Regions from separate parts of the Homo sapiens genome. Here region 1 is linked to region 2. The links are contacts of gene promoters, found by promoter capture Hi-C in human tissues and cell types (Jung and others, 2019). All regions are on one chromosome and are shown on one strand. The core of a region is centred on a gene start or on the middle of the fragment in contact, and the rest is flanking DNA. Distances in the headings are between cores, read along the strand shown.

Region 1 (3,819 bases), core at 910-3,409, 68 kb before region 2:
GAACTCTTATTGTATTTTTCCCTTTTGAAAATGATCAGCAATAAGTTAACCATAGCTGTTGTAAGTCTTTTATCAGCTACAGGTAGACAGCTTTTTATGTTTTACACCAATGCTTCCCTGAAAGCACTTGCATCAGCTACAAGCTAGAGGGCTTCATCTTCAACAAAGCACTTTTTCAGAGTCCCGTGGAAAAGAACTATGCCAGGTACTTTTGTGTACAGGCTTATGATGAGATGGTTTAAACAACTTTGAGACCACACTAGTGAACTGAGGCAGGATTTTGAGAACTCTAGTTGAGAAGCAAGTGTGTTAATAAGATAGTGCTAACCCAAGGTGGAGTGGAAAAAGAACTAATTACATAGACCTGAATGATAGAAGGGATGATTTGGGTTTTGTTTGGAATATTGCTAAAGCTTTAATATTCTGTTTTCTGGATATATAAGAAACTCACTTCCTATTTCTCTTTTCTCTTACACTATCTATAATTCATAACTATCTAGTAGACCATGCTTTTGTAAACTGAAATGAAATGTTTGTAAATGATATCTTATACCCCTGAGTTCTCCAGGATTTGGAAACTCTCATTGAGTATTCTTATTTTCATAGCAATATAAATATCTGCATTGGTTCAATAAAAATCTGTCTGCCCTTCTTACCAGATCATGATTAGAAACATTGGTATGTAACCAAGGCCTTACCTGGAATGCCATATTTGTGAATGATGCTCACTGAATCAGATATGATCAGACACTTTTAAGGAACTAAGGCTGACTTTATGGAGCCAATGCATACAAAGCCCTCTTGGGAAAACTAGCCTGGTACCTGACTTACAGGGTTCTCAGCCTTACAACTGAGTAAGGAAGGTTACTTCCTGGCAAGTCTTAGAAGCTTAGGATATTTTGTCGACCTCAAAAAGAGAACAGTTCTCCCACATTTATAGATGCAGCAAGTAAAATCTTCTTAGCTTGATAGGCTTTTAAAATTTCAAATTCAGATTCCTTATGAAAACTTTGAGCAAAGCAAGCTTAAGGTCTATTTGGTAAATTACCATTCTTACTGTGCCTATGTAAATAATCAAGCTAAATCTAATGAGACTTAATTTTTACTTTTTAATATTCTTATTGAGGCAAAACTTACATAACATAAAATTAATTATTTTAAAGTGTACAATTTAGTGGCATTTAGTACCTTTACAATACTGTGTAACCTTCACCTCAACCTAGTTCTAAAACATTTCCATTACCTCAAAAGAAAACCCATGCTTATTAAACATTCACTTCTTACACTCTCATCCGCCTTCCAGCCTCTGACAACCAGTAATCTGTGTTGGGTCTCTATGGATTTACCTATTTTGGATATTTTATATGTGTAATCACACAATATGTGATCTTTTATGTCTGGCTTCTTTCACTTAATATAATGTGTTTGAGGTTCATCCATGTTGTAGCATGTGCCAGTACTCTGTTCTTTTTTTAGAGCTGAATAATATTCCATCACACACACACACACACCCACACACCCCACATTGTGTTTATCCATTCATCTGTTGACGAATGGGTAACATTTGTGTTGTTTTCATTGTATGGCTATTGTGAATAGTGCTGCTATAAACATTTGTGCATAAGTATTCGTTTGAGTACTTGTTTGCAATTCTTTTGAATATTTATACTTAGAAGTGGAATTTTTAGGTCATATAGTAATTCTATGTTTAACTTTTGAGGAACGACCAAACTGTTTTTCACGGTAGTTGCACCATTTTACTTTCTCGCCAGCAGTGTATAAGGGCTTCAATTTCTCCACGTCCTCACCAGCACTTGTTATTTTCCAGTTATTTTTGTTTTTAAATTCTAGCCATCCTAGTATGTGTGAAGTGGTATCTACTTGTGGATCTGGTTTGCATTTTCCTGATGACTAATGATGTCAAGCATTGTTTTATGAGCTTGTTGTCCATTTGTAGACCTTCTTTGGAGATATGTCTATTCAAGTCCTTTGCCCATTTTTAAATTTTTAATCTTTTAAAATTTTTAAAAATTTAAAAATTTTTTAATTTTTTTTTTGCTGTTGAGTTATAAGAGTTCTTTTTATATTATGGATGTCACACACTTATTGGATATATGATTTGCACATATTTTCTCCGATTCTGCAGGTTGTTGTTTCACTTTGTTGATAAATATCCTTTGAAGCCCCAAAGCTTTACATTTTGATGAACTCCAGTTTAACTATTTTTCTTTTGTTTTTTGAGACCAGCCTTATTTTGCGTTCAAGAATAATCTTTCTTGAGATTATCTTTAGTCAAAAGGAAGTGACTATAGAGAGAAATTTTGTGTTTCAGCAGAAAACTCTGCCTCATCTATGGCACACCACTCTAGGTTATCAGAGTCTAGTCCTATTCACTGTCTTTGAGCTATTTGGTACCTACTTATAAGCTACAGGTTACTGATGGATAGGCAAACTTTATCTTGTCTGGTGGAGATATAATTGACTTCCTTAGGGCTAGGCGCAGTGGCTCATGCTGTAATTCCAGCACTTTGGGAGGCTGGGGTGGGAGGATTGCTTGAGGCTGGGAATTCAAGTCCTCATCTTCACAAAAAGTTTTAAAAATTAGCTGGGCATGCACCTTTAGTCCTAGCTACTCAGGAGGCTGAGGCAGGAGGATTGCTTCAGCCTGGGAGTCTGAGGCTGCAGTGGGCTATGATTGTGCCACTGCACTCTAGCCTGGGTGAAGAGACTCTGTTTAAAAAAAAAAAAATTAGATAATTGACTTCCTTTTCTTCTGTGGAAAAACCAGTTTTGGCACCTACTTGTAAATCAAACTGGATCTTGTTAACTTGTCCAAATTGTCAATCTTTACCAAATTTTCAGTTCTTCTAGGTTACTTCAATATCTTGCTAATATCCTCCAAACTAACTTTTCCAAGTTTTCTCCCTCCCACCTGACTCAGAGTCACTGAGAACTAAAACCCGACTGCCCAAATCCCTATTGGGACTCTAAGTTGTCTTGGAGCTTGCCCTCTTTTCCAGGATCTGAGGCAGCCCTGCAAGCTAAACTCCAGTGGCTCAATATAAACCTAGACGAACACAGAACTGCAGCCGACCATGCATGACTAGAATTCTCCTTGAACAAGCTGCTGCCTAGACTATGATAGAAGTTGTAAGAAATGCTCAAGTCATGCATACCTTTTACATGAAAGATGACTGTCTTAGTCCATTTAGTGTTGCTATAACAGAATACCTGAGGCTGGATAACTTATAAAGAAAAGAGGTTTGTTTGGCTTATAATTCTGGTGGCTGGAAAGTTCAAAATTGGGCAGCTGCATCTGGTAAGGGCCTCCCTCATACTGCTTCCATTCATGGCAGAAAGCAGAAGGAGAGCAGGTGTGTGCAAAGAGATCACATGGTGAGAGAGAAAGCAAGAGAGAGAAACTGAGGATACTAGACTTCTTTAAAACAACTCAGTCATGTGGGAACAAATCCATTCCCATGAGAGAATAAAAACTCACTCACTTCTGCAGGAGGGCATTAATTTATTCATGAGATATCTGCCTCCATGACCCAAATACCTCCCATTAGGCTCCACCTCTTAACATTGGGGATTAAATTCAACATGAGTTTTGGCAGGGGGAAACCACATATAAACCATAGCGGTAACCAAGACTGTGGACAAACAACATTGCCAAGAGTACCCATACCCTAGCTCCATGAGTGGTGCTGCAAAATGGAAAAGTTCTCTTCCACTGATGCGTTGGAATCCACTGGACTGGTTACTTTCAGGGTTCAATTCTTGGCTCTTTACTATAATATAATCTTTTATATTAACTTT
Region 2 (4,277 bases), core at 727-3,226:
GAAACAGTTAGCTCTCTCTTGAGTTCTGGCGCAGTCTTGGCAGTTTTCTTTGGTCTTTTTTGTTTGTTTGTTTTTTGAGACGGAGTCTCACTCTGTCACCCAGGCTGGGGTGCAGTGGCGCAATCTCGGCTCACTGCAAGCTCCGCCTCTCGGGTTCACACCATTCTCCTGCCTCAGCCTCCCGAGTAGCTGGGACTACAGGCGCCTGCCACCACGCCCGGCTAATTTTTTGTATTTTTAGTAGAGACGGGGTTTCACCGTGTTAGCCAGGATGGTCTTGATCTCCTGAGCTCATGATCCGCCTGCCTCAGCCTCCCAAAGTACTAGGATTACAGGCGTGAGCCACCACGCCCGGCCTTCTTTGGTCTTGATCTGTCTCCAGCCTCACCCATTAAAGTTTGGTGCTGGTGGTGGGTTGTCTAAAAGTCTTAGGTTGAACTCACACCCTCAAATCTGGCTTAGAATGAAACGAAATCAAAAGAAAAATGGAACACCTCCTAGCTGAACACCTTTTTGTATGAGACAGGTTTTAATACCCAAATGTACTCAAAATCTCCACAATGCACTGCACCTACCCCTGGGATACTTAACCAAGCAATCGAGCTGTATTTCTAATGAACCTTAACTGCTTCCTGCACTTTCCACTCCCCTGTCCCAAGTTTTCTTTTCTTTTTCTTTCTTTCTTTCTTTTTTTTTTTTTTTTTTTTTTTTTTTTTTGAGACGGAGTTTCACTCTTGTTGCCCAGGCTGCAGTGCAATGGTGCAATCTCGGCTCACTGCAACCTTCACCTCCGGGGTTCAAGCGATTCTCCTGCCTCAGCCTCCCGAGTAGCTGGGATTACAGGCGCCCGCTACCACGTCCGGCTAATTTTTTTGTATTTTTAGTAGAGACGGGGTTTTGCCATGTTGGGCAGGCTGGTCTCAAATTACTGACCTCAGGCGATCCACCCACCTAGGCCTCCCAAAGTGCTGGGATTACAGGCGTGAGCCATGCTCTCGGCCCCCCAAGTTTTCTTAATTCTTCAAGAGCTTTCTTGGGATTACAGGCAGATTACAAACACTGTGAATACTTTCACAGAAAGCTAAAATAATTTTTTCAAAAGACCATTCTTTTCCTTGCCCCACTGTGAAGCAGGATATTAAGGCTACGAACACCTAGCTTCAGGGCTATGTTCAAGAAAGACAACTTACCTCATCTGCTTATGCAGTGCATATGCTTCAATCAAAGAATGCACCATACTGGCCTAAAAACATCAGCGTAAAAAAAAAAAAAGAAAAGCAGAAATAGTCTCTTTAAAGTTTAATTCAGCAAAATCCCCGTCAATCTCACCATCCTGAACAAAGGAACGGATTAATTTTGTTTCAACTGGCTTCCCTTCTGTTAACAGTTACAATACACTTTAGACAATACAGATACAAAGTATCAAAATCACTAAGGTGAAAGCTACCGGGCCTTAGGCAGGTGATGGAACACCTTCCCCCTGCAGCTTGTTTTCCCACGACTTCAGCGGTCCCCTATGAGTGGAAACTGCGTCCTCTCCCCTCCTCCGTACCCCCTCCCCCACTCCTACCTGTCCATTGGACGTCCCGAAGAGACATGCTGCGCTCTCAGAAACGATATGAGAACACTTCCTTCTGATACAGCTTTAGGTATCTGATACAGCTACTCGAAATTTCTGAAGATTTCCCCCAGCCCAGTGTCCTCTCCGCTTCCTAACGCTCTTTCGTCCACCGCCCCCACCCCCACCCCCAAAGCCCATGGTCTTTCATCCCGACTTCCCTTACCCGTTTGGGGATCTTGGCCAGGGAGTCACACATACTGACATACTCGGGACTATAGATATAAACCGGGACCAGCGACTGCCCACTGTCCGCCGGTTCCTCCGGCTCCTCCATCTTCCGCTTAAAACCGTTCCGCAGCCACCTTCCAGATCTGGCTTTTTTCGGACTCGGCCAGGGTTCCAGTTCCTGCTCCTCTGATCGGCCGCAGCGGTGCTCCCTGGTCAACATTCCCTCCTATTCTTGAGATCGCCGGAGACACTATCACCGCTCCCCATCCTATTGAAGGAATGGATGGGACTTCCCAGACCAGACTCCCCTCATTTAGTGACCACAGTTCAAGGAAAAGGGTTTGGCAGATGTAAAAGTCCAAATAGCTGTCAATTAGGATCGATTGTTTTTATGGCACAAATAAGTAGGGTCAAAACTAACCATCCTTGTTGCCCTACGGGGCCATTTGAGATGAAGTCAGACCAGTTTCACAGCATGCTGGGAGATGTAGTTTCCGGAGGTTTGAGCAACGGAAGAGCCGGGGCTAAACACTAAAATAACCGCGATTTTTAGTTTCAGCGCTAAGACCAAAAAAAAAAAAAAAAAAAAGTAGCCTCAACTCTTTATGAATTGTTTCAATCTGCAAACACATCCATTTCATCCATTTAACCATATAAACACAGATAGAACGTGGCCACCTAGAGCCCCCACCATCCAGCTACATCAGCTGCCTATCCTAAGGATAGGCTTTTTTTTTTTTTTTTTTTTTTTGGTGGGGGCGCTATTTAATGGCACAAATGGTTTGAAAAGTTTACACAGTAAATTCTGTGATGCAATTTTATAGTTCATTTCTTTTCATCATTAACTATCCATGTCCACATGAGAGTTAACAATCTCAATAATTTACTCTGGCAAATCTGATAGTACTTTCCCAAGAGACTGGCTGGTGCAGTGGAAATTGCTTGGTAGATTCCGATCAAGCAATGATGTCAAATGTAACTCCTTGAACATTCATGTGGTAGGAAGGTTGCAAGCAGTGGTGTTTGGAAACTGCAGCTCTTCTCCTCCTACCTCCTCTTGTTTCTGCAGCTAAACATAGATTAGGGAAATATTTTAGGTTTGGTGTGAGGGTCCAGTTTAAGACTATCTGAGGCGGTTTTAGAATTACCATCAGCATTTGGAGGTTCCTGGAGGCCCCTATGATCTGATACAAGCTGGCCAGTGCTCAGGATCTTAATTCTCATGGCAACCTAAACTGACTGACTAACACCACTGGGACAACCTAATATCCTTACTATATTTAAAGTCTGGCTTGCTTTTTAGACTTTAAACATTTATTGAAGATTGTGACATGCACATTGGCCATATTATCTCATTTCATCCTTGCAACAGTCCTATAAAGGAGGTTGCAATACACCCATTTTACAGATGCAGTTTAGAGAAACAACATTCAAAATCACATACTTAACAAGCAGATAAGTAGGAATTCAAAATTAGGTCAGCCTGACACTGAAGCCTTTGAACATTCCCTTTATTATATAAACTTGATTCGTCCAGGATGACTTTGTGTTATGATATAACTTTGTTCACCCTCCATTTTGTATCCCTTCAATACTTATTCTGAAAATCTTGGGGGTGTTTTGGTGATGTGCTCTGTAACTAGAATGTAAGATCTTATGTTTCTTTAATTTATGTCTTCCCATAGTAACTAGTTAAAAGCTCTGCAGTCATTCATTCATCAAACATTTATCTGATATTAAGTGTACAGTACAGCTGAGGATTCAAAGGTAAATTATGATGTGATCTCTGCTCTCAAGGAATTTGCATTCTTTTTTTTTTTTTTTTTTTTTTTGAGACAGAGGAGTCTTGCTCTGTCGCCCAGGCTGGAGTGCCGTGGCGCGATCTCCTCTCGCTGCAAGCTCCGCCTCCCGGGTTCATGCCATTCTCCTGCCTCAGCCTGTCCAAGTAGCTGGGACTACAGGCGCCCGCCACCACGCCCAGCTAATTTTTTTATTTTTAGTAGAGACGGGGTTTCACCGTGGTCTCTATCTCCTGACCTCGTGATCCGCCCGCCTCGGCCTCCCAAAGTGCTGGGATTACAAGTGTGAGCCACCGCGCCCAGCCAGAATTTGCATTCTTATACAGAAGATGGGGCAAGTACACAAGAAACCAAAGGCAATGCAGAGTCAATGAATGTAGGATGCTTAGCCTACTTAATAAATAAGCATTAAGTACTAAATAACTGGCATTTAATAAATGGTAACTAGAATTCATCTTTGATGGCATTTGAGAGGGTCTTAGGAGGTGGGCAAGATTTTGCTTGGTGAAGATGGGAGCCAGGAGAGGGCATGCTGACTAGAATGAACAGCATAAACAGTAACACAAAAGGGAAAATTTCTAGTCGAGTTTAGCTAAAAGGGCCAGATCATGAAGAACATTGAATACCAGGCTAAAGAGAATAGACTACATTCTGTGGGAAATGGGAAAACATATTTAGACAGAAATAGT

What was found. Contacts are between HindIII fragments. The study calls those that stand out against the background at their distance.
Region 1: a fragment that was not itself captured here is called in contact with the fragment with the promoter of HDAC8 in region 2 in 2 of the 25 tissues and cell types used here (adrenal gland and ovary).

What each region holds. Positions count from the first base shown.
Region 1 is chrX:72,503,045-72,506,863 of GRCh38, forward strand. The region is part of intron 4 of HDAC8 (histone deacetylase 8); the gene reads right to left. Among named protein-coding and RNA genes, the nearest start is that of HDAC8, 68 kb to the right of the region's middle. The HindIII fragment of the contact is 5,612 bases long and covers 1-3,819 here.
Region 2 is chrX:72,570,867-72,575,143 of GRCh38, forward strand. HDAC8 (histone deacetylase 8) reads right to left here and starts at 1,977. Exons shown (of 11, transcript NM_018486.3): 1 at 1,785-1,977; 2 at 1,191-1,243. The coding sequence starts at 1,895. RefSeq lists an enhancer at 1,940-2,069. The HindIII fragment of the contact is 13,628 bases long and covers 1-4,277 here.